Linked DNA regions of Homo sapiens: all the other regions are linked to region 5. The links are contacts of gene promoters, found by promoter capture Hi-C in blood cells and fetal thymus (Javierre and others, 2016). All regions are on one chromosome and are shown on one strand. Each heading gives the region's core, a stretch centred on a gene start or on the middle of the fragment in contact. The rest is flanking DNA. Distances are from core to core; before and after follow the strand shown. Region 1 overlaps ERLIN2 (ER lipid raft associated 2). Region 2 overlaps TACC1 (transforming acidic coiled-coil containing protein 1). Region 3 holds the start of ADAM9 (ADAM metallopeptidase domain 9). Region 4 has its middle 5.6 kb from the start of PLEKHA2. Region 5 holds the start of PLPP5 (phospholipid phosphatase 5).

The links. The method cuts DNA at HindIII sites, captures the fragments that hold promoters and counts their contacts. A CHiCAGO score of 5 or more calls a contact.
Region 1: a contact is called between a fragment that was not itself captured here and the fragment with the promoter of PLPP5 in region 5, in 3 of 17 cell types (total CD8 T cells, activated CD4 T cells and naive CD8 T cells). The highest score is 6.1, in total CD8 T cells.
Region 2: a contact is called between a fragment that was not itself captured here and the fragment with the promoter of PLPP5 in region 5, in 1 of 17 cell types (total CD8 T cells). The highest score is 6.9, in total CD8 T cells.
Region 3: a fragment that was not itself captured here is called in contact with the fragment with the promoter of PLPP5 in region 5 in 2 of 17 cell types (total CD8 T cells and monocytes); the score reaches 5.9 in total CD8 T cells.
Region 4: a fragment that was not itself captured here is called in contact with the fragment with the promoter of PLPP5 in region 5 in 1 of 17 cell types (total B cells); the score reaches 6.6 in total B cells.

What each region holds. Positions count from the first base shown.
Region 1 is chr8:37,743,643-37,748,972 of GRCh38, reverse strand. It overlaps ERLIN2 (ER lipid raft associated 2), which reads right to left. Exons shown (of 12, transcript NM_007175.8): 5 at 4,557-4,618; 6 at 4,277-4,402. It also overlaps the pseudogene LOC728024. Among named protein-coding and RNA genes, the nearest start is that of ERLIN2, 9.7 kb to the right of the region's middle. The HindIII fragment of the contact is 1,737 bases long and covers 445-2,181 here.
Region 2 is chr8:38,793,308-38,799,131 of GRCh38, reverse strand. All of the region lies in intron 2 of TACC1 (transforming acidic coiled-coil containing protein 1), which reads right to left. Among named protein-coding and RNA genes, the nearest start is that of TACC1, 9.0 kb to the right of the region's middle. RefSeq lists enhancers at 1,249-1,408, 1,479-1,618, 1,738-2,276, 4,867-5,161. The HindIII fragment of the contact is 1,580 bases long and covers 2,566-4,145 here.
Region 3 is chr8:38,995,931-39,001,350 of GRCh38, reverse strand. It overlaps ADAM9 (ADAM metallopeptidase domain 9), which reads right to left and starts at 4,378. Exons shown (of 22, transcript NM_003816.3): 1 at 4,191-4,378. The coding sequence starts at 4,287. It overlaps TM2D2 (TM2 domain containing 2), which reads left to right and starts at 4,842. Exons shown (of 4, transcript NM_078473.3): 1 at 4,842-5,138. The coding sequence starts at 4,912. RefSeq lists a silencer at 3,742-4,171 and enhancers at 4,182-4,491, 4,502-4,551, 4,612-4,711, 4,872-5,061, 4,670-5,191 and 1 more. The HindIII fragment of the contact is 252 bases long and covers 1,608-1,859 here.
Region 4 is chr8:38,893,050-38,898,459 of GRCh38, reverse strand. No RefSeq gene overlaps it. Among named protein-coding and RNA genes, the nearest start is that of PLEKHA2, 5.6 kb to the left of the region's middle. The HindIII fragment of the contact is 2,100 bases long and covers 1,634-3,733 here.
Region 5 is chr8:38,267,035-38,272,837 of GRCh38, reverse strand. PLPP5 (phospholipid phosphatase 5) reads left to right here and starts at 3,614. Exons shown (of 7, transcript NM_001102559.2): 1 at 3,614-3,712; 2 at 3,848-3,956; 3 at 4,377-4,467; 4 at 4,878-4,941; 5 at 5,447-5,571. The coding sequence starts at 3,639. It overlaps NSD3 (nuclear receptor binding SET domain protein 3), which reads left to right. Exons shown (of 24, transcript NM_023034.2): 24 at 1-3,134. It also overlaps a transcript of DDHD2 not described here. RefSeq lists a silencer at 3,416-3,895. The HindIII fragment of the contact is 3,801 bases long and covers 2,926-5,803 here.

The DNA.
Region 1 (5,330 bases), core at 64-2,563, 520 kb after region 5:
AGCCCCAGGCTTTTGATGTGCTGTTTGCTTTGGTCCTGATTTCTTTGTCTGGAATCCACATGAGTTGTTTCACAGACAAATGTAGGAACAGCTGTAACTGACTCTCCCCCCACCTTCCTTTCCAGCTGCAATCTCAGAACAGCAGTACCAAAGCTGACTTCTCTGGCATGGGCTTCTCAGGTTTTAGAATCCTCTTCCTTGCCTTCTGCCCATGATATCCTTGATAAGATCCCGGAGGGGCTTAGAGAAAAAGACAGAGTGAAATCAGGCTGGGACTTGTACACTGCATCTCTCCTTTGCTGTCAGCCGCCATCTGCTTTAAGTGGTCCTTTCGTGGTCACCTGTGCTCAAATAAGAGCCTCTGAGGAAGAGAAAGTCTCCGCTCTTTCACTGATGCCAAAACGGAGGCCCATGAAAGCTGGCTAGTAGCAAAAATAACAAGCTTGTTTAACTGGTGGGCCTTGATTGTTAGGATTTTAAGACAGTAGTATCAGTAAACAAGGGACGGTAACGTTTCCACATATAGGATGTGCTCTCACAAGCCTCTGAGCACCGAAGGAGAAATGCCATCAAGTCGGCACCTCACACCTGCCAGGGGTCAACCAATTTAACAACTAGAACTAAATATTACATTTCATATTTTAAGTAATTTTAAGTAGAATACCAACCAAACTTTAAATGGCCCGTATCCTCCATAAGTTAATAACGTCATTCCTCAGACCAAATTATATCTGTCAAGGTGGAAACCTGTGGCCCTGGGCTAGTAGCTTACCGGAAAAATGTGAAAGAAATACTTTTCAAGTTGTTTTAGTAATATTGATGTTTATATGTTATGGAAATGTTGATAAATGCCATTTAAATTGTATTACTAAGGTAGCCGCAGGGAAAAGGCGCAAGGCGCGCTCGTGACGTCATTTCGGCGCGACCCTCTTCTTTGCGTAGAGTTTTTCAGGTTGCTCCTGGAAACCATGCCGAAAGTAGTGTCTCGGTCAGTAGTCTGCTCTGACACTCGGGACCGGGAGGAATATGACGACGGCGAGAAGCCCCTCCATGTGTACTACTGTTTGTGCGGCCAGGTGGTCCTAGTGCTGGACTGTCAGTTAGAGAAATTGCCCATGAGGCCCCGGGACCGGTCCCGTGTGATTGATGCTGCCAAACATGCCCATAAGTTTTGTAACACAGAAGACGAAGAGACTATGTATCTGCGGAGACCTGAAGGCATTGAACTACAGTACAGAAAGAAATGTGCAAAGTGTGGACTGCTGCTCTTCTACCAATCCCAGCCGAAGAATGCTCCCGTTACCTTCATTGTGGATGGAGCAGTCGTCAAGTTTGGCCAGGGCTTTGGGAAAACGAACATATATACTCAGAAACAAGAGCCTCCTAAGAAGGTGATGATGACCAAACGGACCAAAGACATGGGCAAGTTCAGTTCTGTCACTGTGTCTACCATTGATGAAGAGGAAGAGGAGATTGAGGCTAGGGAAGTTGCTGACTCGTATGCACAGAATGCCAAAGTGATTGAAAAACAGCTGGAGCGCAAAGGCATGAGCAAGAGGCCACTGCAAGAGCTGGCTGAATGGGAAGCCAAGAAAGTGAAAATGAAGGGGACCTTGATTGACAACCAGTTCAAATAACCAGGCTTTTTTTCTGAGCCCTAGACTGGAGGCAAGCATTTAGATCAGGAGACAAAGTAACTTCTTGATTACATAGACTGGTTCCTATTTATATCCCAGCAGAAGGCTTTATGTTGTTTCCCATTGATTCTCCTACATGCAGTGAGGTCTTTAACTGAGTCCATTTGACCTGCTTTCTAGGAGATGGATTTTTCTCTAATTTTTTTTCTGTATTTAGATTTTCTTTACTATTTTTTGTCCATTTGATGCAAACTTCTTCAGCTGTGTAGAAACTTTATGAATAGATAAGTGCTTGAGTGTCTCTGGTCTCTAAAGTGGCTGGTTTTATTCTTTCTTCAAAGTTAATAACATGTTTCAAGATTTTTGGACAAAATATTATGGTACGTCATAGAGAAAAGCAGCGTGAATTATATTTAGGTATAGCAAGTCAGATCCTTTGAAGTGACTCTGTCTCTGTTCTTAGAAGGGTTCTTGGAATTGGTTGTGGTTTGAATCTTTCTACTGTCAGAGGAGACCCACTAAAAACCAGAATCTGCATAAAGCTTTCTTTACTTAACACACTGAAGCTATAGGTGAGCCATCCCATGTCAGACTTTATACTCAAAGAAGGAAAAGCCAAGTTGCAGTGAGCGGGTAAGACAGCTCAGATCCGAATGAAAATGGGGTCTGAATAAGTAACCCAAGGGAGCTGCCCTCTAGTCGGGCAGCTAGTATTGCTTCCTTGCATGGATACATAGGAGGGATACATTATAGATTAATAAATGATAGTGAGATAAACAAAATGATCTGTTGTGTATCTTTTACTTTACATTTGCTATTTACAGAGGAGTGTTGTATACATAGGTATTATTTTATGTCACACTGCTTCAGTGATAACTATATCCATGTGTTTGTATCCATGTTTTTATCCATTCAACTGTATTAAAAGGTGTTGGGACAGGAAAAAAAGTTGTATTACTAAGTACACACAAAGAGGTTCTTCAGGTAAACTTCAAAGTATTAGATAATACTTTAATAACATGGGCAAAGAGGATGCGGCAGAGTAAGAAGTGATGAAAATTATGCAGCTTCATGTTTAAAGTCTGGGCTATAAGAGTCCTGAGAGAAGGAAAGTATAGAAGAACCTTCTGAGTTGAAGGGCCAGGACTAGAGACATGAGCTCCTCCTTTATGGATATGACAGATTCTAAGCCAAGTAGTGCTTGCTAGCAAGACTGAGATGTAAAAATAAAAAAGTTTCAAAGCAAATATATTTCCCCAGCTCCTCCATACAAGCAGCTGTACTTCACTAAGCTACCAAGTTTAGCTGTAAGAAAGTAAGAAGTTTGCTAATGAAAAACAACTTTGTATTTTAATTTCCTCTTCAGGGACATTAGGGATCCTTTGTCTTTTTTCAGTGCTTTGAAATGTTCATGTAATGTCACAAGTCCTAAGACAATGGCTAGAGAAAATTAATATTTTATAAAATTCTATTAGTTTGAGGTTAAAAAGAAAAATCAACGGCAAATTTACCAACTTTTTCTTAAAAGCACAGTGAATCCAAAACAGATAAAAGACTACAAACCCTATAAAATGAATTTAGATTCATTTTCTACTGCAGAAACATTAAAAGTAATTTGGATGATTTCCTAAATCTTAAATGGTGCAAAAGGCGGTTTGCTTAATTATGATTGCTGGCGATGTGGATGAGTCCTCCTGTCTGCTATGAAAAATGTTCTTGCTCAGGGTCCCTTTTATGAAGATTCCTGGGAAAAATCATTTTCCAGTCCTAGTGTCAAGAACAGTTATACTATTGGTTAAAAATTCATTTACTTTTGGCATTGGCTATTAGAGAATTTCTGGCAGTGAGTTTAAACAGAATACTTGACTGCAAACAAGTTATAACAGTTACCCAACTGTGTCCTTCCTTTGCTGCTAAGTCAGGTTGCCTTTACTTTGAAAAAGGTAAAAAGGACAAAACATATCTACTTAGGCACGTGGAATCTTTTTGTTTAAAGTGTTTTTCTATTCGTTGCTACAGGTACAGAGTAAAAAAATAATAATCACAAAGGTTCTGAGAACTGGAAGGAGCTATGGTTCTCATCTCACTTCTAGAATTAACTATGAATCATGTCTTTTTCATCACCCATTCCTGGGGGCCCTCCATTCAGTGTTGCATGGTGAGAAGAATGCTGAAGAGCCAGGAGAGGAAGGCTCCTGTTTCAGCCCCACTACTAATTGGCATCTGGCTCTGTGACTTTCTTGCTTTGGGTCACAGTACCCTCAGCTTAAAATGAGGATGCTGGTCTGGACAATCTCTAAGGTTCTTCTAGAATGGACCTTGTCTTCATTATAGAATGATAGTTTAGGAACAGTGGGAACACATTTCCACTCCAGCCTCTGATTGAGGCCAGAAGTGAATACTCTACTCCACTATGGTCCCTGTGCCCAAAGCTCCAGCCCTCTAAGGATCTTGTTGCATAGCTATCAGCATTCTCCATGAACTCCTTTGTGACCAGCTCCTGAGCACAAGATTCTTTAACATTTCCTGTCCATAAGTGACCATCACACCCTGCAGGCAGCCAGGCTTTAGGCAGTGGAGAGACGCGGGGTTCCAGGAACCCTGCTTAAGCACGGCATGCTCAGGAGAGACTTTCTTACCAAACAGCTCAATGTAGACCTCTTGAAGCGTGTGCACACTGCAGAACTGGTTCAGTTCGTGGTGGATCTTGTTGAAGATGAGGGCCTTGTCATAGTCAGCAGTATAGTTCTTCACTATATCATACACTGAGAGGGAAGGAGAGGGCTTGGCATAAGAAAAGGCAAGACTCAAAATGCCCTCAGACACGGCAGCTCTCCTTTTCCAAGGTGCTACAACAGACACGGGAGTGGCATGCTGGGGAAAGTGAGCTGGTGGTGGGAATAAACTGTTAAGACGTACCTGCGTTCGGGACCAGGAAGTTCACCACTTCAATTCTGTCAAAGTAGATCATCACACCACCACTATTGGAGGGAGAATGGACAAGAAGTCACTGGGAAGCCTTAGAATATGGTGCAGTCCCCCAGGGTGATGGCGTAAGATGTGGGGCTTGGCAGAAAAGGAGTAGAAGAGTTCACGGGAAGTTGGAAGGCAGCTTGGATCTCCAAGTGGGAGGTTCTGCAGGGCTCATGGCAACAACATACTCTCCTGAGAAATCACACTGCCTAGGAACATCTCTACAAAGACATGAATGAGACTTTTGGGGACCAGTACGAAAGAGTAACTCATATCTTTGGAATCAGCAATGCCTTTTGATTAATCAGTTGCACGGAAAAGACTAAGGAGGGTCAAGGTGAAGTTTTCAGAACTTAGAAGGTTACTGTGGAATGTTATGATCAATGTTTCTTAAACTGTCTTCACTATTACTTTGGTGTCACACTCCCTTTGCCCTCAAATATTTATTATAAAAAGATTTCAAACATAGAGAAGCCGAAAGAGTAGTATAACTAACATCCATATCCAGATACCTGAATTCAACACTGATAACATTTTACCTTATTTATTGACCTTTTTTTTTTCTGAACATTTCAAAGTAAGCTGCAGTTAGGATACTTTACTCCTTTACTTTGGTGAGCACTGTCTTAAGAATAATCATTCTCCTACACACTCATGGTATCATTCCCAAGCCTAAGAAAATTAGCAATAATTCTGTAATATCACCTAATACCCAGTCCT
Region 2 (5,824 bases), core at 2,106-4,605, 530 kb before region 5:
ATCAAGGGCTTCAGGAGGGAAACAAGCGTGATTCTGGCACCAACCCTTTCTGCTCAAGTGGTCTGCCCTGAGGAGACTGTTAATCAGATGTATATTAGCATTAATGCTAAAAGTCCAAAATTTGAGTGTTTTTTTCCCCCAGTTTCATGTCTTTGGGTTCCCAGTCTCTCTGATTCCTCCAAAGTTGAAGTGTATTTTATATATGTTCGTTCTCACTTAGTCATCAGCCTTAAAATGGAGAAGTACACAATTTATTGTCCAGGGTTGGAACAACCGTACAATAGGCCCTTTTCCAGGAATGCGGGATACAATCTAAGGGTATGGGCTGCATAGCTCACATTTCCCCAACAACTGCTGGGGCCCAGGATCCCCGGAAGCATGGGAGAGGGGTGGGTCAGCGGGATTCTGAGTGGGTGAGTCAAGGCAGACCATCCTCTTAGGTACATCATAGTTTTAAGCTGTCTCACCAACCAAAGCAGAAAAATACACATACACACACACACACACACACACACACACACACACGCAGAACCCAGACAACAAACTACCTGTTTAAACCCCTTCCTAACCTCCAAAAAACCCCCAAACAAAAACATTACCCAGAAGTCACGGTAGGGCAAATTTCATTGCTTTTTTAAGAGACAGGGCACCAGCTACACTGCTGTTCTCCTGAGATAAGCCTCTAACTCCTGAGAGAGGCTCCCCCTAAAACCTAAGACTCTACAGGTAAAGAATAATCTGGAAAACCACTTGGTAAACTGAAAAAAGTTTGTACTAAGGATGAAGAAAGCACTTCAAATTTCCAAAACAGCACTTTATGCTATTTTATTTAAAAAGACACCCAAGCCAGGTGTAGTGGTACACGCCTGTAGTCCCAGCTACTCGGAAGGCTGAGTCAGGAGGATCCCTTAAGACTGGGAGTTGAGGCTGCAGTGAGCTATGATTGTACCACCACACTCCAGCCTGGGCAACACAGCAAGACCCTGTCTCTAAAAAAAAAAAAGGAAGAAAAATAAAAAGAGACCCAAACCGTATCTCTAAAGGCCAAGATTATAAGGTAAGAGGATGGGACTTGCTTATCAGGAAGTGTCCACCCACCAGGAAGCCAAAGCCTCCTCCAGAGAAGCCAATCCAGCAATGAATGTGTCTTCTCTTCTCACTCATGAGATGCCCATGGGTTCTGGAACCATCTGGATTTGTTTGAGGTTATATTTTAGACAGAGTAGAAATCCCCTTCCACAGACAGAAATCATAGAAGGCCCTCCCCACAAAACTTCTCCCCCATCCCCAACCTATTCTGGCAGGAAGAGCAAGGGGGGAAAGAGCACGTGCTAACAGATGGGGCTCCTGTGCAGAGATCTGGGATTGTGTAACTTCAATCTGTTGCTGCCAAACAACCATAATGTGCATCTCTTCAGAAATAATTACTGGAAAATTCAAAATACCAACTGCCTCTCTCACAAAGTAGCAACCACCCACATGGAGCTGAGAAGCTGATGCTGGATAAAGAAGAAGAGGGAGGAATGTTCAGCAAGAGAGGGGCCTCCAGACAGAGCAATCTCAGCCAGCATGCTGGGTGCATGAGACACATCCATGGCAGGACCACAAGCCAATAGGCGGCTATATAATTTCTTCAGCCAGTTCTGCTCCTGTTTAAGAAAGAGGGCAGCAAGAAGGAGTGGGGTTAGGAAGGGCATAGTGAAGAGACGCCAAAGGAAGAAAGCAATGGGAAAAGCTTTGCCATCTAAGAATGTATACCCTTGTATATCCTTTCATGCAAGTTTTTTAAAAAGTGGAAAAGGGCTTTGTGGTAGCCAGCCTCCAAGACGGCCCCTATATGTCTCACCTCCTGGTACACATGCCCTTGGACTGACCTGTGTAACCAAAAGGATACTGTGGAAATAAGTGTGACTTTTGAGGCTAAGTCACAGAAGACTCTGCAGTTTCTATCTTGCTTGCTCTTGGATCACTCACTCTGGGGCAGCCAGCTGCCATGCTGTGAGGATACTCAAGCAACCCAGCAGTGGTCCACATGGTGAGGACTGCAGCCTCCCACCAACAGCCAGCACTCACAGCCCAGGCAAATGAGTAAGCCGCCTTAGGAGAGGATTCTTGAGCCTCAGTCAAGTCTTTAAACAACTGCAGTCCCAGCCGACATCTTGACAGCATTCTCAAAAGTGACCTGAGCCACACCACCCAGCTCCCAAATTTCCCAACTACAAAGACTATGTGAGATGTTCGTTGTTTTCAGTTTTGGAGTAATTTGTTATGCAGCCAGAGATCACCAACAAAGGCCTCTTAAAAACTCCTCTATCTACCATAAAACAGGCGCAGAGCCCCTGGCAGCCGCACACACCTCCACACACCTGCCTCTTCTCAACCATGCATGACTCAGGTGGAGACAGAATGCAAAGGCTAGTACTGAATTTGTCTACTCCTTCTTTATTTTTCACTGATGAGCTGAAGCTAGGCATTGAGGAAGCAAAATGTTTTCAATCCCACTGCACTTATCCAGTGATGATTTTTGCTTGACTATTAATTTATATCTAAATCATGCTGCAAGCTTCCAAACTTCTGATGTTTCAACTTCCTAAAATACATTTCATACTTCAGAATAATATGTGCCAAGTTCACACATGTGGAAGATGTATTTTTTGATTTTTTAAACTACTATCACATGACAGGATACTTAAGACGATGCTTTCCCCCATCACACACCCTGCTCTGGCAACATTTTAAGACCCTTTATTTCCTCTGATATGTCTTCTCTTCAGATAGTGAACAACAGAGAGGGATTCACAAATTTCCTGGAGAGAAAAGCTGTATAATATGTTCCAAAGAGCTCTGGATCTGCAATCTTAAAAGCTGAATTCAAAACCCAGGTCCACTACTAGCAGTAAAGGCTCTGGCCTCAATTTCCCAATCTGTGAAATGGAAATCACTTGTGTCCTATCTCGCAGAATCATGGTCATAAAAATCAAACAAGATGCTGCAAACAAAGATTACTTGTTCCCAACACATCTAATAAATAAATACGGCTGAAACAGATAGCTGGTGATCTGCTAGGTGGGAATATTGTAATGGGAAAGCTGGAGATCAATCATTTATTGTCATATTTCCAGCTATGATATAAGAAAGAGGGTCCTCGACTGGCTAGGAGAGTATCTGCATCTGCCAAACTGTCAAGATACATTTTTCATTTGTGAATTAATAAAATACTCCATGCCATTATTATTATTCCCTTGTGAGTCTGGCCATCATCAATCTAAACCCTGGGGATCTAATCATGTTTGTTTGAACTCATAAAATTAGGTCATGTACATGCAAAGGTGAGGGTGAGATCTTGAACTCACAAGTAGCAAAGCCTTTCTAAGCCCAGATTTAATAGTCACCAGGCAATTTAGCAACCTTGGTTATGAAATCTCCACTGAGAGGGTTGTTTTGGGTGGATAAACCATTATCTCCCATCGCTACTCTGGATTTAGGAGAGTGTGACAAAATGGTTTATACCCTCCAAGATTTCCTCTGGGCAGTATAACTGGTAACCTGAAAAAGACACTGCAACTGCTCTTTCATTTAAATGTTTAAATGGCTTTAGGCCACATCCATTTTGTAGGTGGGACATTACATGGCAGCAATATAATTTTAGAAGGACTGCCGGCTCCCAAAACACATACACAGGTAGAAAGTGTCTCTGCCACCCGCAAGTACCAAAGTAAGTTCTACTGCTTTATTCGATGCTTGGGTAAGCCCAAAATGGGGGAGTGCAAGGTCTTGATTTTGTCACTCATCTTAAAAGAAAAATTGTGATTTGATAGTTACTAAAATCTTTCCTTTCTGCAGGTAGACTTTGCTTCCCTGCCCTGGAATTTTTTATTCAGACACTGTTGCTCCTCTGTGGTTCTGCACTCTCACAAGTTTCTGCTGGAAAAACTACACTTTTTTCCCCAGGAAGACACTCCCTTGGGTAAGGCACCATATAGAAGCAGGTGCTTCCTAGGGGCACATTTACATTGTGATAGAGCAACAACAACAAAAAAACACATGACTCTGATCTCATTTATTAGCTGGTTGGAATCTCCAACTTCAGAGCTAAAAATACATGAAAAAACAAAGTAGCTATATCATGCTAAGATTTTCAAGCTTTAAATACCTTAACATGGAATTATACAGTACAAAAAAATCAAACTGTGGAAGAGGCAATCACAGCAAAACATTAAAAATTTAAAATTAAATTAAAAGCATTAGGCTGCGATGCTGTTGAAGGAGCCACATGGGTTGGACTGCTGGACTAGGTAATATGAAAGGTCCTAATTAGTCCCATTATTTCTAGGAAACTCTAATAAAGCATTCCCTTGTTGGAGCAGGGAAAGGATGTTAAACTAAATCCTTAGGAGGATATACTTGTAGACTTGAATGGAACACTTCAATATGTACCTAATGAAAATTTTTCACATAGTATCTGATTAAACATATAACTCAAAGCTTTAGAATAAAAAATCAAAGCCTCTGATTTTAACAAGGTTTCCATGCTGTGTTTTCTATAGCACGCACACACACACACACACAAACAAACACACACACACGTGCAGTCTAAAACATTCTAAAAATACACCATATCAACCTTTTAAGAGATCTGCACAGTCAACTTACAAATTCTCATACACCCGAAGTTACATTAAAGACATTTAATGGGTTGGGTGAGGCTGGCTCATGCCTGTAACCCCAACACTTTGGGAGGCCAAGGTGGGAGGATCACTTGAGCCCAGGAGTTCGAGACCAGCCTGGGCAACACAGTGAAACCCCATCACTATTTTTTTAAAAAAAATTTAAGAAAATAAAATGTTAAAAAAAATTTAATGGGCAAAAGTTAAAAGTCTATGTGTTTGTACTTCTATTAAATGATTCCAATATTCTCCCCATTCTTCCCTAATTTCCTTTTTAAATAATTTTTATTCCTCCTTAGATCTTTGAGTCAATTGAAAATCAAGTTCATTGCAGACCAATTACATCACTTCCCCTTTGCAAATATGACAAATAGCCAGGCCACATCAGGCTCTCCCCTGGGCCTTCCCTGAACATGCAGGCCTAGACTAATGGCACCTCACGCCCACAGTTCATTTGTTCAGCAGGTATAACCTTGCACCTTTTCATTCTTAAAGCCATTTTCCCAAATTACTTAAACTCTGTATTTTTACTGAAATTGTAATAAGTATAGATGTAGGTTGACATTTTTTTTCTGTACAAGATAGTAAATATGTTAGACTTTTGCCAGACATTTGGTCTCTGTTCCAAGTACTCAACCCAGCTATTGTAGAGCAAAAGCAGCCATAGACAATACATGAATGAATGAGTATGGCTGTATTCCAATAACTTTATTTATGGGGATGACAGTGGTGGTTCAAACCTGAAATCCCAGCATTTTGGGAGGCTGAGGTGGGAGGATCACTTACTTGAGCCCTGGAGCTCAAGATCAGCCTGGGCAACATAGCAAGACCCCATATCTACCAAAATATATATTTCATATATATATAACTTGATGGGCCCTGAAATTTTGTTTTGTTTTTTTTTAAGAACTACTTTATTGAGATATAATTCACAAACCATACAGTCCACCCTTTAAAATATATGATGCAATGGTTTTTAGTAAATTCACATAATCGTGTGACCATTGATGGGCCCTGAAATTTGGATTTCACATTATTTTCACACATCACCATTAAACCATCAAAAAATGTAAAACTCATTCTTCTGTTCAGGGCCATGCAAAAAAACAGGACAGGCAGGGCTTGGTCTATGAGTCACAGTTTGCTGATTCTGATCG
Region 3 (5,420 bases), core at 484-2,983, 730 kb before region 5:
CTAAACAAACATAGTTCTGATAGTTGTAATTATCACATATGACTTAAAGTGAACCTTACTTTTTATGATTAACATCTTTTGTATCAACTTTTCTACAAATCTACATAGCCTACACATTTGTCATTTTGATAGCAAAATCGTATTTCATTGTATTGCTATCCACAGACTGCTTAATCACTTCTCTTAAGTGGCTGGGATGGGAGGTTAGGCCCAAGATATCTTCACAACAGGATTCTCAGCCTTTCAATAAGACTGATTAGAATCAGGCTCTCCTGGGGTCTACTCATATGAAGATTCTACACTACTAGAAGGAAGACGTTAAAATCATCCTAAAATGACTTAAATCATGAAAAATCTCATTAAAAGAACAATTCATCAAAGGGAACGTCCCATTCCCTTTGAGTTCTGCCCTACATTATAACATGTCTGGGGGTGATATCATTTTCTTTTCTTCCAGTAAGGTTTAGTAACACAATACTTACATTACCATAAACATAAATAAATACAAACAGAACTGCATATTTTAAAACGGACCAAGTTAATTTCTAAGGTTCCCTAGCTCACTCTTAAAAGATGTGATTTAAGGCCAGGTGTGGTGGTTCACACCTGTAATCCCAGCACTTTGGGAGGCTGATGCAGGAGGAACACTTGAGCCCAGGAGTTCGAGACCAGCCTGGGCAACAGAGCAAGATTGCCTCTCCACACACAAAAAAAGTTTTTAATTAGCCAAGCATGGTGACACACCCCTGCAGTCCCAGCTACTCAGGAGGCTTAGGCAGGAGGATTGCTTCAGCCCAGGAATTCGAGGTTACAGTGATCTATGACTGTTCCACTGCACTCCAGCCTGGGCAACAGAGCAAGACCCTGTCTCTCAGAAAGAAAAAAAAAAGATGTGACTCAAGCAGTGTCCCACATATGATCACTTAGGGAAAATAATCTGATTAAAATAACAACATGAAATGGAAAATAAACTACAATAATCTCTCAATATACAAACAACATTGTGCTACCCAACTTTAGTTGGGTCCACATTAGACCCATTCAAAGACTGTGAGAGAGGCTGGGGCGCGGTGGCTCATGCCTGTAGTCTCAGCGCTTTGGGAGGCTGAGGTGGGCGGATCACGAGGTCAGGAGGTCGAGACCATCCTGGCTAATACCGTGAAACTCCATCTCTACTAAAAATACAAAAAACTAGCCAGGCATAAGGCTGAGGCAGGAGAATTGCTTGAACTCGGGAGGTGAAGGTTGCAGTGGGCCGAGATCGTGCCACTGCACTCCAGCCTGGGCGACACAGCAAGACTCCATCTCAAAAAAAAAAAGACTGTGAGGGATTAGCTACTGAGATACAAAAGGACTGCATTCATTTATGAGGCAGTTCCATAGCGCTGACTCAAAAGGATGGCATGACTCCAAGCCTCCAGTATATGTTACATACCAAAAAGGAAAAAGAAATATGAGGCTATGTCATATGTTTGAGCTTGCGGATATTCCCAAGAAAAAGCTTCCAGTTACTTAGAGCTTGCATCTTTTGGGGGATTCCATAATAAATTCTATTATAAACCCAGATTTTTTACAAAGAGCAAATATAAATTTGGTAAGTTAAAGCTTCAAGTGCTTTTTGAAAACTGTCTTGGAAACCAGGAACTAGGTTTGTACATATTTTAATTATATATGCTTTCTTTTTTACTTAAAAGGTTGAAAACCAAATCATTCTTAAATGTAAAAGGCTACATTCTCCTATCGGCACAAACACAAACATATCAAATTCAAATATTTTGCTGGCATCTGAAAACGAGATTAGTATGGACCTAAGTTCTTACTACACAAATGATTTTACAGTGACTCACCATGAGTAAGCTTTCAAAGTCATTTTCTTTAGAATGCCAGTCTTTGTTTAAAAAAAAATTCTAAATCTGTTCCTCATAATTACTACCTTAGAAAATCAGAAGAGGTTTCATACCTGATTCCGCTTATTTTTTACAATGACACAGTTACCTTTGTCAGTTTAAAAAAAAAAAAAAAGTTTACTGAAAGTTAGCTGTTTGGAAATTATACTGCATTTCCTCATTGAGACAATGTTATAAAAGGTAGTAAAAATCCTATAAAACCTAATTAACTCCTAATGTAACTGACGTGTGCCTGGTACCTCAAATTCCTCTTTCGATCCTGGAAAATGTTTCAGTGCACGTTTTAAACACCTTATACTGCAAAAATGTGGTCAGCTGATTTTGTATGAACGTTCCCCGAGAGAAACAAGAGTTGACTCACTGCACACTATTACAAAAGCCTCTTAACCGGTGTCCCAGCCTCTAGTCTCTCCCTCCTAGATTCTATCCTCCACCGTGTTGCCCGTTTTCTTAACAGAAAATGAGATTAGGTCGCACCCCTACTTAAAACCTCCACTGCCCAAAGAACTTCCTACGGGGTGAAGTCCAAACCCCTTAGTTCAGCATAGAAGACTCTTCCCAACTGGTAACAACCTACCTTAGTTTGATCTTCCATCCCTCCCTTTTATAGTCTGCATGAAGACATATTGACATTTTTATCATTTCCTAAAAAGTCATGTTCTTTCATACGCCCCCCGCCCCACCATACTCTTGCAAAAACTTTCCTCTGCTTAGAATGTATCTACTATTCTACTTGAAAAATCACCGATGTAGCCCAGTTCAAATATTATTTTCTCTAAAAATCTTCCCCAACATCTCTCAGATGCGCTTAGCATATTTGGTCACCTTCTGCCCCTCTACAATCAACTGTGTGGTGTTTATAGGAGTTCCATAAACGGTGGCTAAACTTTGAAGGGGCATACACATGCCGAAGTGAGGAGCTGGCCAAAACCACAGTTAAAGACCATCAGGATATTCCACTCACCTAATGCAGGTCGGTAATGACTGACAATTTATATTAACATTTAAAAATACAGTCTTATTTACATTTACAAACACAAAAAAAAATCACAGATTAATAAAACTCCGGATGTATAATCGTCTTCACCTTAAACATCGGTGAGTGTTAACCATCTAGAATACCACCGGAAAAGTAGTTTTAACCAGAAGAAATTTGGCAACTTCCCATTCAAAACATTGTCAGAGTTTCAACATTTCCACACTGGGGCAAATTTACTTAATTTCAAATAAAGCAGCCAAAGATAAGAAAAACAAGTAATTAGTTTCCTGAAGGTCAACAGTCCTGCGTTGAAATCTTCTATCATCACCTTTGAATAACTTTCAATCAATGATTTAGTAAAAACTCCCATTCTCCATCATCCTCTGTCGCTGATAGAGAAAATACAGCCATGCAAACAATTATATCATACAAAATCCAAAATAAACAACTTGTTTCCAGAAAGACGCCAGCGTGCTGACAATCTGCTTCCACTATGTTTGGGCATCTCCAATACAAGTATCTTACATAGTCAAGGGCAGTTTCACAATTCAAAAACGATTTCACACAAATGATTTAATTCCTACAATAATCCTGTGAGTTCAAAAGAGCAGGGATTATCTGTCCGGATTTAACACAGTACGAACCCAATAAAAACACAGATTTTTTAAGAATGGTTTGGCTATAGAAAGGTAGCACATCGTTTACAAAATATTCTTACTACAAAAATGACCCAAGAGAAATGAGCGTCCTCCCACCCACCTTTATTCCACCATTAAATTTAGCTGTGTTGACCCAAGGATACCATGAACGTCAAAATTTCAAATTATAACCTGCAGCAAAAGTTTCATCTCTCAGTCTCTTTCCAAGCGACATTAACTCCACGAGCGAGAGCCAGCTCCCTCCCTGCAGGCGTTTGGAGGACTGAACGCCCGCGGGCGCGCCCAGCCTGCAGGGCTCCGGCCCGCCGAGGTCAGCGCCCGCCCCAGAGCGGGTTTCGGGGCGTCTGGGGGACCCGGGGTCGCGCGAGGCGGCGAGGGATGGGGGGACGCTGGGAACGGCTCCATCGAACAGGACACGGAGGAAGCGGTGCCGGGCAGAGGACCCGGGCCAAGAAGGGCTTGGGGCGCCAAACCCCGCGCCTCGGGTGCGACCCCGGTCCGCACACACCTGGAGCGGCCGCGCCCCCCGACCCCGGGTCCGATCCCCAGGCCGGGCCCCTCCACTCCCAGGCACCACAGGTTCACTCCGAGCGCCCCGTCCCTAGGAAGCAGCCGTCCCAACCGACCCGGGGCGCGGACACCCACCTGGCCGCGCCGCACCGAGGACTGGGCCCACCAGGCCAAGCAACAGCAACCACCGGACACGAAGGGTCCCCGAGGGAAAGCGCGCGCCAGACCCCATCTCGGCCGATTCCGCAGGTTCCTCTCAGCACTCGGTCGCCTCCACCTCCGCCTCTTCCATCATTTTCCAACCCTGCCGGGGCCCCAAGTCTGGCCGGGAAGCGCGCGCGCCCGACGAGCACGCGCGCCCGACGAGCACGCGCGCGGCACTGACGCAACTGAGCCCTCGGTCCGAGCTCGCTCCCGACATCGCCTAGCTGCGCTGACGTAGGGAAAAATCCAGTCCCCGGCGCGAGAATAGGATTTCTAAACCGGCGGTGGCAACCAGCACTAGTCGGCCCGCCAGTCATATCCGCCCCGCCCCGTCGGCTGCCGGGCACGCCCACCTAGGGGGGTCGACGGATCCGATTGGAGAACGCATTCGGCGCAAAAGAAGGAGGAGCATGAGACCCAGAAGAGGAATCGAGAAGCAGAAGCAGAGGGCGGAGTAGCCCCGCCCGTCTGCTCGACCTTTTCTAGTTGGTTGGCGGAGGTGCGCGGAGCGTCGAGCTGCGCGTCCATTGGCTGTTTGGCGGGGCTACGCGGGCGGGGCTACGCGGAAAGGCCTGACCACGCAGTTCTTGGGTCTGTGCTGCTGGCCTGGGGTTGTGGTTGAGGCCGGGTCTCCGCTCCTGTGCCCGGGAAGATGGTGCTAGGTGGTTGCCCGGTTAGTTACTTACTTCTGTGCGGCCAGGCGGCTTTGCTGCTGGGGAATTTACTTCTGCTGCATTGTGTGTCTCGGAGCCACTCGCAAAATGCGACCGCTGAGCCTGAGCTCACATCCGCTGGCGCCGCCCAGCCGGAGGGCCCCGGGGGTGCTGCGAGCTGGGAATATGGCGACCCCCACTCTCCGGTCATCCTCTGCTCTTACCTGTAAGCTACCAGTGGTCGAGGCGGGTGGACGTGGAGGGTGTGCCAGGAATATATGGGTGTTAAGGGAAGGCAGGGTTGGGGGGACGCTGCATTTTTTCAGACCCTGCCTCTCTGAGGTCGTTCCGGAGGCAAATATCATGAACCAGGTTTCTCACAGCCCGTGCAGAGAAAACTCTTGTGTGTCAGTGACAGAGGCTTTGAGATCCCCAAAGAGGAAAACTGGGTAGGAGTAACATCATATAGCCTCTGGAAGAAGGGCGTAAGGTTGTGCTTTCTTTGCCC
Region 4 (5,410 bases), core at 1,434-3,933, 630 kb before region 5:
CCAGGGCTTCCTCAGAGGGACCCCCACCCCCACCCTCCTCTCATGTCACCTTGAAGCAGGCGTCAAGTGAGTCTGTGCCCTGCTATGTTTTGCCATCCCTTTCTCTCTTTTTGGGGGGACACTTTTTTATTGTGATAAAGTATACATGACATAAATTTTACCATTTTAAAGTGTATATGTAGTGGCATTCGGTAAATTCACAATGTTGTACAACTCTCACCACTGTCTAGTTCCAACCGATTTTCATGGCTTCTAAAGTTGACGCCATACCTATTAAGCAGTCACCTCCCATTCTTCTCTTCTCCCAGCCCCTGGTCACCACTAACTTGCTTTCCATCCAGTCTACAGATTTGCCTATTTTTGATACTTCATATAAGTGGAATCATATATATGTGGCCTTCTGTGTCTAGCTGCTGTTGCTGCTTTTTTTTTTTTTTTTTTTTTTGAGACAGAGTCTCACTCTATTGCCCAAGCTAGAGTGCAGCAGCATGATCTTGGCTCACTGCAACCTCCGCCTCCCAGGTTCAAGCGATTCTCCTGCCTCAGCCTCCCGAGTAGCTAGGATTACAGGCCTGCGCCACCACACCCGGCTAATTTTTGTATTTTTAGTAGAGACAGAGTCTCACCACGTTGGCCAGGCTGGTATCGAACTCCTGACCTCAAGTGATCCATCCGCCTCCGCCTCCCAAAGTGCTGGGATTACAGGCGTGAGCCACCGCACCTGGCTGTGTCTAGCTTCTTATGTTTACTTTTGCCATCACTTCATTGACACATTTTGAAAGTACAGTATTGCTGTTGCCTAATTTTATACTTTAATTTTGTTCAGTGCAATAAACAGCCCTGATGTCTGAGAATGTGACTGTACCTGTGGGGAAAGGAATGTCAAAAAAGGACGTTTCATGTGAGCTATTTCAGCCCCCTTGTTGTACCAAGGTAAAATAAAGCTCAACAATTTGCTCAAGGTTTTGAAGCTATAATAGTTAGTGGCAGAGTTGGTTCTAGAACCCAGAGTTGACTACCTTAGAATCTTCTAGTATTGGTATAGAAACCTTGCCACCAAGATGAAAACTTCTGGCCTAGAACCTAAGAATCTCAACAGAAAACCTTATGCACTACTCTAAGCATTTATTTATGTACTTTCTATTCATTTTCAATGTTAATGGCTGGTTAGCTAGATAACCTAACAACCTCCAGTGGTGAGCCAGTGTACCCTGCAGGGAACTATTGTTCTGTCCTCATAGATACCCATTACATAAGGCTGCAGCTGGGGCCAGTTAGTTCTATTAGGGAAAGTGTGGGGCCAAAGAGGCCAAGGTCATTGGTTTGATTCTGGCTCAGGCCAGTTCATTTTGCACAGAGATGGATTGCTCCAGGGCTATACACTGCACCTCTAATGTTAGCCAGTCATTTTATAAATAGTTGCTATGGGTTTTGATAGCAAAGTATGAATAGTTCTGTACCATCCATTTCTAGAATGATTGCTCAAACTGCCATTGTTTTATTCAGTCCAATTCATTCAACAAACAATTATCTGAACCCATTACCATTTTTCCTTCTGTATGTCTTGCATTTACTTGTTTTCCAGGTACTTACTAATTGCTAATTGTTATGCATGTATTATCTCATTTAAGCTTTATAATGACAATGACCCTGCCATTATTTTATGGTGATGAGATGGCTAAGGCATACAGATAAAGCCCTGATACAAACCTGGACAGCCAGAGGCCAGAGCCTGGTCTTTTACCTACCAAGCTACACTGGTAGATGCAATGTTAGGCCTTGTGAAGGATGCAGAAAAGCATAAAACAAGACTCTTCCTTCCCACCGCTGACACTTCCTATATTTATCATCATTTAGAATCTCCATTCCATTTCACCTAGCAATTGCCTATCCAAAGAAAGTTATATGGATATATAGATAGCAATACATGCACACACATATGTATTTATATTCACTGCAGCATTGGTCATAATGGTAAAAATTGGAAATCACTTTCATGCGCATCAAGAAGGGATTGAACAGGTGCATCACTACAATCTTATGCTATGCTGCACTTAGAAAAGAATGAGGGCTGGGTGGGGTGGCTCATGCCTATAATTCCAGCAGTTTGAAAGGTCAAAGCAGGAGAATCACTTGAGCCCAGGAGTTCCAGACTAACATGGTCAACATGGCGAGATCTGTCTCTGGGAACGATTTTTAAAAATTAGCTGGACATGGTGGTGCACACCTGTAGCCCCAGCTACTCAGGAGGCTGAGGCAAGAGGATCACTTGAGCCCAGGAGTTCAAGGTTGCAGTGAACTATGATTCCATCACTACACTCCAGCCTGGGCAACAGAACCAGACGCTGTCTCAAAAAAAAAAAAAAAAAAAAAAAGAATGAGGTAGATATCTATATGAAAAATACTATACATTTTAAGTGAAAAAAGTACAGAGCTTTACATGTAGTATAATTCCATTTCTGTAAATAATTTTTTGCATGAAAAAGCTCTATAAGAATACATTCCAAACTGTTAACCACAGTTCTCTTAGGGCAGGGGTAGAGGGGTGATAATGGTGGATTTCACTTTCTAAGAGATGTATTCTGTGAGGGTTCTTTTTTTGCAACAAGCATGCATGCATTTGGTTTTTTTTTTAAAAAAAGAACAGGAATGGCTTAAATTTTTAATAAAATTTAAAAGTTCCATGAGGAAGAAAATAATATTGCAGCCTTCGAGGAGCTCATCTCTTACTAAGGAGGGAACATAGTATGTACAGAAACTGATACATGCAGAGGAGAGCAGAGATAAAATTCCCCGGGAAGATTATCAACCAGCTGTGGTTGAGAAGGGCAGGGGAAAATGCATGAAGGACATGGCCCCTTGCAAGGACCTTGAAAGAAAGGTTAAAATGTAGAAAAGTGAAGAGGAGGTGAGAATAGGTGGATTCCAGATACAGAGATGATCAGAGGCAAAGCACAGAGCAGGACCACATGGGATCTATTCAGGGAAGTGTGGCTGGTACAGTTGAGCTGGAGCACGGGAGGACATAGGAAGGATTTTCATGGGGAATGAAACAGGAAAGAAAGGTAGCTGGAGTGTCTTTATTGCTAAGCTAAGGAGTCTGTACTTATTATTAGGCTTCAAGAGCCACTGAAGGCTTTTGAGCAAGGAAGGGACACAGTTGGAAGTTAACTGGCTGTGATTTCGTAGTTACTGGCTGCCTAGTAACTAGACTCTGGCACCCAGCTACCTAGTTTTGACTCCTGACTCTGTCACTAATTAGCTGAATAGCCAGGGACCAGTGACTTCTCTGTGCTTCTATAAAATGGGGAAGGTGGTGATGACAGATAACTGTCTCATACCATGGCATTTGGGATTGAGTGAATTCATGCTTTTAGGAAACATGGTTAAGTGCTGACAATGCTAAATTTGAAAAATCAGTGTCATACCTTTGGATTTAAATCCTCGTATTTCATTTGAAACTTTTATCCCAAAGAGCTAACACTTCATGATAAATTATTAACTATTCTTTTTCCCCCACTCTCAGGGAATTAGAGATTTTTCATCTCATTTTACAGATGGAAGAATTTAGGTTTTAAGAGAGCAATAGCATCTCAGAATCACACAGCCAGTCATGATCTGAATCCCTGGGTTCTGAATGGTAGTTCAGTGACCTTTGCCCAATACTTAAGGTTGTCTCTTAGCTCAAATTCTCAGAGCCTTGAGAGTAGGAAAATGGGGAGTGGAAGAAGCTTAGGAAATTTCTGTTTATAGAGTAAGAGGAACAGCAGTAAAGGACAGTAATAAGGTAAAATCAAAAAAGAGAAAACTCTGGTGGAACATCTGGAAGTTTATAAAATCAGACTTGTAAAATATAAACAGGAGATATACATATAAATATATATACATACACACATATACATACATACTTACTGGTGCTAAAGTTATTTCCTAGTAAAAAAGTTTGGAAAGCATTGTTGTACTGCTAAGTCTAACACTAATAGTGTCATTTCTCAGCCTCAGAAATGAGTGTGCGTGCCGTCCCCAGAAATAACAGTCTCCTGGCCAAGAGCACCATTCCTATTGATTCATGCTGATGGCATTGTTTTCCCATCAGTTTGAATAAGTGTAGTGCACCACTCGGAATTCTGCATCCTCAGTGATGCCCTGCAATTAGAGGGAAGAACTGGGACTTCCCAGTTCAGAGTGAGAGAATGAATAGGTACTTAACTTTGGATCTATGACCATGTTTTAGCACTGTTTGACTTTATTTTTGCTTAGACTAGTTAAATAATTCACTATAGACTAGTTAAATAATTCACTACTTCAGTACTGAGGCCACACAGGGGCTACTCTTAGTAAATACTTGTGGGTGAATATAGTCAAAGTTATTAGCAAGAATAAACTCTAGCCAGTTTATTCCAAGAGATGCCTATGGTAGTCAGTGAAGTGGGTTGACTTTTACATCAGTGATTCCCAATACAAGCTGATTATTATAAACCATAGAAAACAAAGAAAAGCAAAAAGGATATTTGGACACGTAGACTTATGTCCTTTTATTATTTTGTTAATAGGCAATATATATACACAGTACAAAGTTCAAAAGAATTAAATATTCCTTTTCCCCCACTCTCAGGGAATTAGAGATTTTTCATCTCACTTTACAGATGGAAAATTTAGGTTTTAAGGAGAACAATAGCATCTCAGAATCACACAGTAGAAAAGAATGAAGTCGATGCTTCCCTGCTTGACTTCTAAATTCTTGTGTTCTCACATACAAAGGAGTTACCAATTATTTTTTAAAAGTACAAAATAATGGGCTGGGCGTGGTGGCTCACGCCTGTAATCCCAGCAGATTGGGAGGCCAAGGTGGGCGGATCACGAGGTCAGGAGTTCGAGACCAGCCTGGCCAACATGGTGAAATCTCATCTCTATTAAAGATACAAAAAATTAGCCAGGCGTGGTGGCAGGCGCCTGTAATCCCAGCTACTTGGGAGGCTGAGGCAGGAGAATCGCTTGAACCTGGAAGGCAGAGGTTGCATTGAGCCGAGATGGCGCCATTGCACTCCAGCCTGGGTGACAGGGCGAGACTCCATCTCAAAAAAAAAAAAAAAAAGTACAAAATAACAACATTGAAAAGCAGTATTTCTTCTACCCATGTTCTCAAACACACTGTTATTCTTACCAGAGATAATCAATGTGTGTGTGTGTGTGTGTGTCTGTGTATGTGTGTGTTTAATACTAAATATTCAGTTTTGCAAGAATATACCTAAAAACGATAACAGTAATTACCCTAGTGGTGGACTTATAGGTGATTTTTAAAATCTTCTGTTTTTCTGGGTTTTCTAAGTTTTCTTTAATATGCATGTATTATTTTATGATTCAAGAAAAAAAAGTTTTACAAATAAATAGTTCTTACCATGAAAGTACT
Region 5 (5,803 bases), core at 2,365-4,864:
TGCCTGTGATACACCAATGAAATATTCCAAAAGACATTGCTCACTCATAGTCTGAAGTTGGTATTTGTTAACTTTTAAATCTATATGTGGTCAGAGTGTAAGTGGCTGGTTTTTATTCTTGTCCAACAATGAAATAACTTAAAGCAGCATGGGCTAATGGTGGTATTTTTTTTAACCACATGTTAATTTGTTGAAGGAAGAAGTGAACATAAGATTTTTGATAATCAGCCTAAAGCTTCAGAAACTGGATCAGTAAGAGCTAAAGATGAAATCCTGGGAAACTTTCTCAGGCACTGTGCAGGGGAGGGAGGGGCTGGACCGCCACTGCTGCGAGGGAAGAATCAGAAGAGCTGCCTGTGGCTGGCTGAGAAGGGCAAGGTGGATGGCTCTTCATTCCTGGAAGGCTGAAGCAGCCAGAGGCAGTGATTCACCTCTTTAATGTCTAATCAGGGAGAGATACAGGAGTGAGGTGGGTTTTATTTTCATTTTTGTTTTAACAAGTTCCCACTCTTATCTTAATTCTCAAAAATGATCTGGCCTCATCTATAGAACTGGCTGAGTTGGGGAATCATTTAAAATTTGGGATTTTCTGTACAAGTCAAGAACATATGTGAAAGCTAAAAAAGTAATGGAGGCAGGGGGACTGCTCCCAGCTCCCTTCTGCCATTTACACAAAATATTTGAAAACATGTCTGTAAATAACGTTGTGGAACTGAGATATTGAGTATCTAATCATGTAAAGGACCCTCAGATGGGACAGGCTATTGGACAACTTTCCTGGTTCATGAAGTGGAATTTCCTTTTTGAGTAGTTTCTTGCATGGTGTATTCCAATAGGTCAAACCCAGACCTACTGTTTGCAAACAGGCCATCTGTAGAGAATACAATCTCTGGACTGCCCAGGACTTGTTGCTTGTCTTTCATTTCATTTTAAATACAAAGCTCTTCCTTTAGCATTCACCTTGAAGTCAAGGTGTTGGCTGCCACATGCCATGTCCTCTTAACAAGATAAGAAAACAGTGGCTATGGAGCCCTCACAGCTGGGAAGCTGACATTCTATACTTCCATATGAGAAAAAGGACATTGGAAAGTTGCTTTATTTCTGGGCAGCGTAGACTAAAGTTACTTTTCACAAGGCTGATGCATCCAGCCTCCCCCAGTTGTCCAAGTTGGTGCAGACATGAATTGATGAATGGAAACACTTTCCTTTGGCCTAGGGCCACCTAGAATTGGTCTCTGGTTATTTGTAAAACAAAAAGTAGAACTTGCTTCCATTTTCAGATGGACTAGGGAATACTATAATTAGACAGCTTTGCAATGAATTAACAAATACTGAAAAGTTGGAAATGTGTATATACTGAAATCTCACCAACTTTTACCTGGGGTGGGGTACCAGGAGAAAGGGAACCCCCTTTCTCCTGGTAAAGGGTAAGGGGGGGGATAATGTTTACCACAGGTACGAAATAGTCACTTTAACATTGAGACCTCTGCCTCATTGAATTCAGGTTTTTTAAGTACTTGAAACTCTTCAGATTCTCCTTATTTTAGTTTCTTTTTACATTTATGAAGTAGAAAGCATTGTTTTGTAAACTGTTTTGAAAATAAATAGCCTAGTCTCTTATCCTCTTTAGCGTGGATTAAAGGTGAAGTTCTGCAAATGGGAGAGTGTTCACAGTAGATAGCTCAGATTGATTGAACACATTTGAGGAAGAGACTCCTGCATGAGATACCAGCATTTTTACAAATACTTTTTATGTACATTCTTTATTTTGTCATTTTGTCAACCCTCTCCCCAAGCACATCTTCTTTCCTTTTACTATGTCTATGTAGGGAAAAAAACAAAACAAAAAATTGCACTTACGTTACACTCCCAAAATGTGGGTAATCCGTGTCTTTCAAAAAACATTTCTGTTTTTTGTTTTGTTTTGGTCAGTCCATTGCATAAGTGACAAGTTTGGGTGCTTGTGGCACGTATGTATGAAGCGGGAGGGGGATGAGAATTGCCTGTCCTTCAGTAGGCTGTAAAAGTAATTTACATGTAAGTAAAAAGGGAAAATAGAATAGATGCCAAAGTCATTTATTCAGTCCTTAGTTTTCTTATGTGGCATTACTGCATCTGCTAGTTAGTGAGAAAGCACCCTCAGCTTTTACTGCTCCCCTCCCTGCCTGCCAACACACTTGATGTGTGCAAACAGCCCTCAAGTATCTGTCAGATGACCTATATAAGGTATTGAATAAGGTATTCTTGTCAGTTTAGAAATGGACTGGATAAAACTTACTTGGTTGTCATTATTTTATCTCATTTGTCCTGTTACATGCCCTATGTTAAGATAATTATATTGCCACTAATAATCAAGATGCTAAATGAGTATTACAACTGGCTAATATCATTTTTTATATACAAGGGTATGTGTATATTTGGAATTGATATGAGAAACTCATTTGTACCCATTTGAGTGATATTGCACAACAAACACAGATACCTACAGACTCCGTTTTCATTTTCTCGTGTTCTTTATGATAATGATCTTTGTAGATTGGTTATTTCTGTACTTTATCTGTAATAAACTTTGTAGATCCTGTGAACCATTACTTTGCCTAAATCACTTGAGACTTGAGTCTTTAATAACAAAGCATCAATATTCACTAAAGTCAATCTCTTTTGAGTTTCTGTGACTTGGCTAGAAGCTCTTGACACTAAGGGATTAGTGTTAATTTTCCCTGGGGGTGTTCCACTAGGGCATTACTGTATAATGACTTGATGTTGCCACATAGACTTCAAGATATATAATATTTTGAGGATTTTGTTGATTGGCCTATGTTTTATTGCATAGTGTGAAACGTGTAAAGCTTGGTTAACCTGTATATAGATAGCTTATTGTTGACTAGTTATAGTGTATTTAGGGTTGCCTGTAATATTTAAGCTTCTTTACTGATGTGTGTGCTGGTAGGAACATATAATTTTTGTACATTATATTTACTGAGATGTTGCCTTTTTTATTTTACAAATACTTTGGAATTCCAATGTGTTTTTTGCTTCCGTGAGGATTAATTTGGAAAGGTTTTTAATGACATTCCACTGATTTCAGATTTTGCTTGAGATTGACTTCAATAAATTGTCCTGTATGTTCCAAATTAAATATGTGGGCTTGTTCTTTGCCAATAATTTTTTGCTACAACACTCTGGGCAGGAGGCCATCCTGGGTGGGAGGACTAAATGACACAATCCAGCCAACCTCAGGTAGTGTAGCTTCCTGCAGAATGCGGCTGTGTTGCTAAGGAACGAGGATCTGAGAGCGGGCTGTTTGGTTTTCCATTTAGAGGCGAGGTCCCGGGAGAAGGCTGCTCCCCGCGGTGGTGTGGTTGGGCCGTGGAGACGAGCTGCTGATGATGGACCGTACGCCGACCTACTCGGCTGGAACTGGGGCGCTGGCTCCCTGCTGAACGCACCAGAGGGCAGCTCCGCTGGCTTTGCGTACCCTTTGCCAGACGATGCCCTCGGCACAGCCGCCAGGCCGTCTTCCTGGGGAGCCGCCGGAGCGCGGGCAACTGGGAGAGGGGGCGGTGCCCAGTTCCCGGCCCGGCCCTCCCCGCGGAGGTGGCCACGTCAGCGCAGCGTCGCTCGGAGCTCGCGGCCGGATGGGGAAGGCGGCGGCGGCGGTGGCCTTTGGGGCCGAAGTGGGCGTGCGGCTCGCGCTGTTCGCGGCCTTCCTGTAAGAAAGATCCACGGCCGGGCCCGGGCGGCCCCGCTTCCCAGGCAGGCGGGCGGCACGGGGCGGCGGGTCGGGCAGTGGGGAAGCGGGGAGGAAGCCAGGCGACCTGCTCTGCGCTTCTTTGTTCCCCTCTAGGGTGACGGAGCTGCTCCCCCCGTTCCAGAGACTCATCCAGCCGGAGGAGATGTGGCTCTACCGGAACCCCTACGTGGAGGCGGAGTATTTCCCCACCAAGCCGATGTTTGTGCGTGGAGAAAGATCGTCTTTCCTCCCTCCCCATGACCCGGCTTCCCGCGGGCACCTGTGCGTTTTCCACCCCGAGACGGCCTTTGTAGGGACCCACTGCCCACTCCGCTGCTGTGCGCTGGGTTCCGCCTCCTAGGGCTCGAGTGTTTAAGATCCTGATTGAGAGAGGAGGGTGTCCGAGCCTCTTTGGGCTGAGACAACGTTTTCCCGGGCGCTCTGTGCCTCAGCCTGAGGTACCGGGGCCCGAGCCGCACGGGCGCTGCTGTTCACTGGTGGCGCTGCCTGGCGCCCGGTTACGCGCACTCAGAGACCTTATGTTAGCTCCAGTGAGTCCTGCTGTGTCACATCCCTCTTTCCTGTAGGAGCACGAGTGTGGCTTTTTTTTGGATTGTTTTTAACCTCTGACATTCTGATTCAGGTTATTGCATTTCTCTCTCCACTGTCTCTGATCTTCCTGGCCAAATTTCTCAAGAAGGCAGACACAAGAGACAGCAGACAAGCCTGCCTGGGTGAGCGCTAGCCCTTTCGGGCCGGTTTCTTCGTGCTGGGAACCTAGGAGGTCGTTGTGGGATTCAGCCACGGTGAGCCTGTGTGGAGGCCACTGAGTTCTGCATTCCTAAAGGAACTCTATCCCCGCGGGAGAGGAAAATAGCACTGCAGGGACTTGGTTACGCAGGCTACACGGCAGGCAGCCCTGTGCCTAAATGCACTGGGTTATTTGTACCTCAGAAATGTCTTTGGCCTAGTACAAAAGTTCTCGGCTACAAAAGAGTGATCACTGAGGACCCTAATTATTTTTGTGCCCAGGCCTGGTTGGATTCTATCCATCTCAGAAACAGCACGGCTGCTCTCATAACGAGGCCATGACCATACCTTTCCTCCTAGACAGATCCTTTCAACTAATGGCTTTGCTTTGCAGCTGCCAGCCTTGCCCTGGCTCTGAATGGCGTCTTTACCAACACAATAAAACTGATCGTAGGGAGGTAAGTGACAACAGCTAACCACCCCAGCATCTGCCTCAGCCCTTACCCACCAGAACAGAGAGGTTAATGGTGTCCACCACACGTCTTTCTCATTCTTTTCTCCTTTATCTTCACTCTGATTTTTCTTTTGTCATTCAACGCTTACTCCCTTCCCCATACCTCAGTCCTCCAGGTGACACCTGGGCTCTTTTCTGCCTGAACAGCATTTCCCACCAACGGCCACAGCAGTCGGTCAGTGTCCTCTTGAGCACCTCCTGAAGCTGCAGTGTCATTTGCTGTTTGCCCTAAAAAGTAATCATGTGCTGGAATGGGCGTTTTTCCCCTAATTTAAATGCTCACCTTGAAAGGCTTTTCTCTTAGTGTGGTGACTATACTAAGCCAGTTACCTTATTTTGCCTGGGGCACTATTTGACCAATAGTTAACAGGATTATTAATGTCTGCTACAACTGAAAAATAATTTCTGGAGTTAATGATTTACGTTCCAACCATGCTGCTTTCTTCCAGGCCACGCCCAGATTTCTTCTACCGCTGCTTCCCTGATGGGCTAGCCCATTCTGACTTGATGTGTACAGGGGATAAGGACGTGGTGAATGAGGGCCGAAAGAGCTTCCCCAGTGGACATTCTTCCTGTATGAATATCATATGGACTCTACCCTATGCTTGTTTTCACATCATTGAATTTAACCTAGAAAGCTAGTAGGGATGGGAAAATCTGACTACTCTTGTTTCTACAATTTGGAAAATCCCCCCTTCTTTAGTAACTCCACAGTTTAACAAGTCTGAGCCTTGACTATTTGGGTAAATATTACAGAACAGAAAGGTAGTTTACCTTCATGAGATTTGCACATTTAATTGTTATAT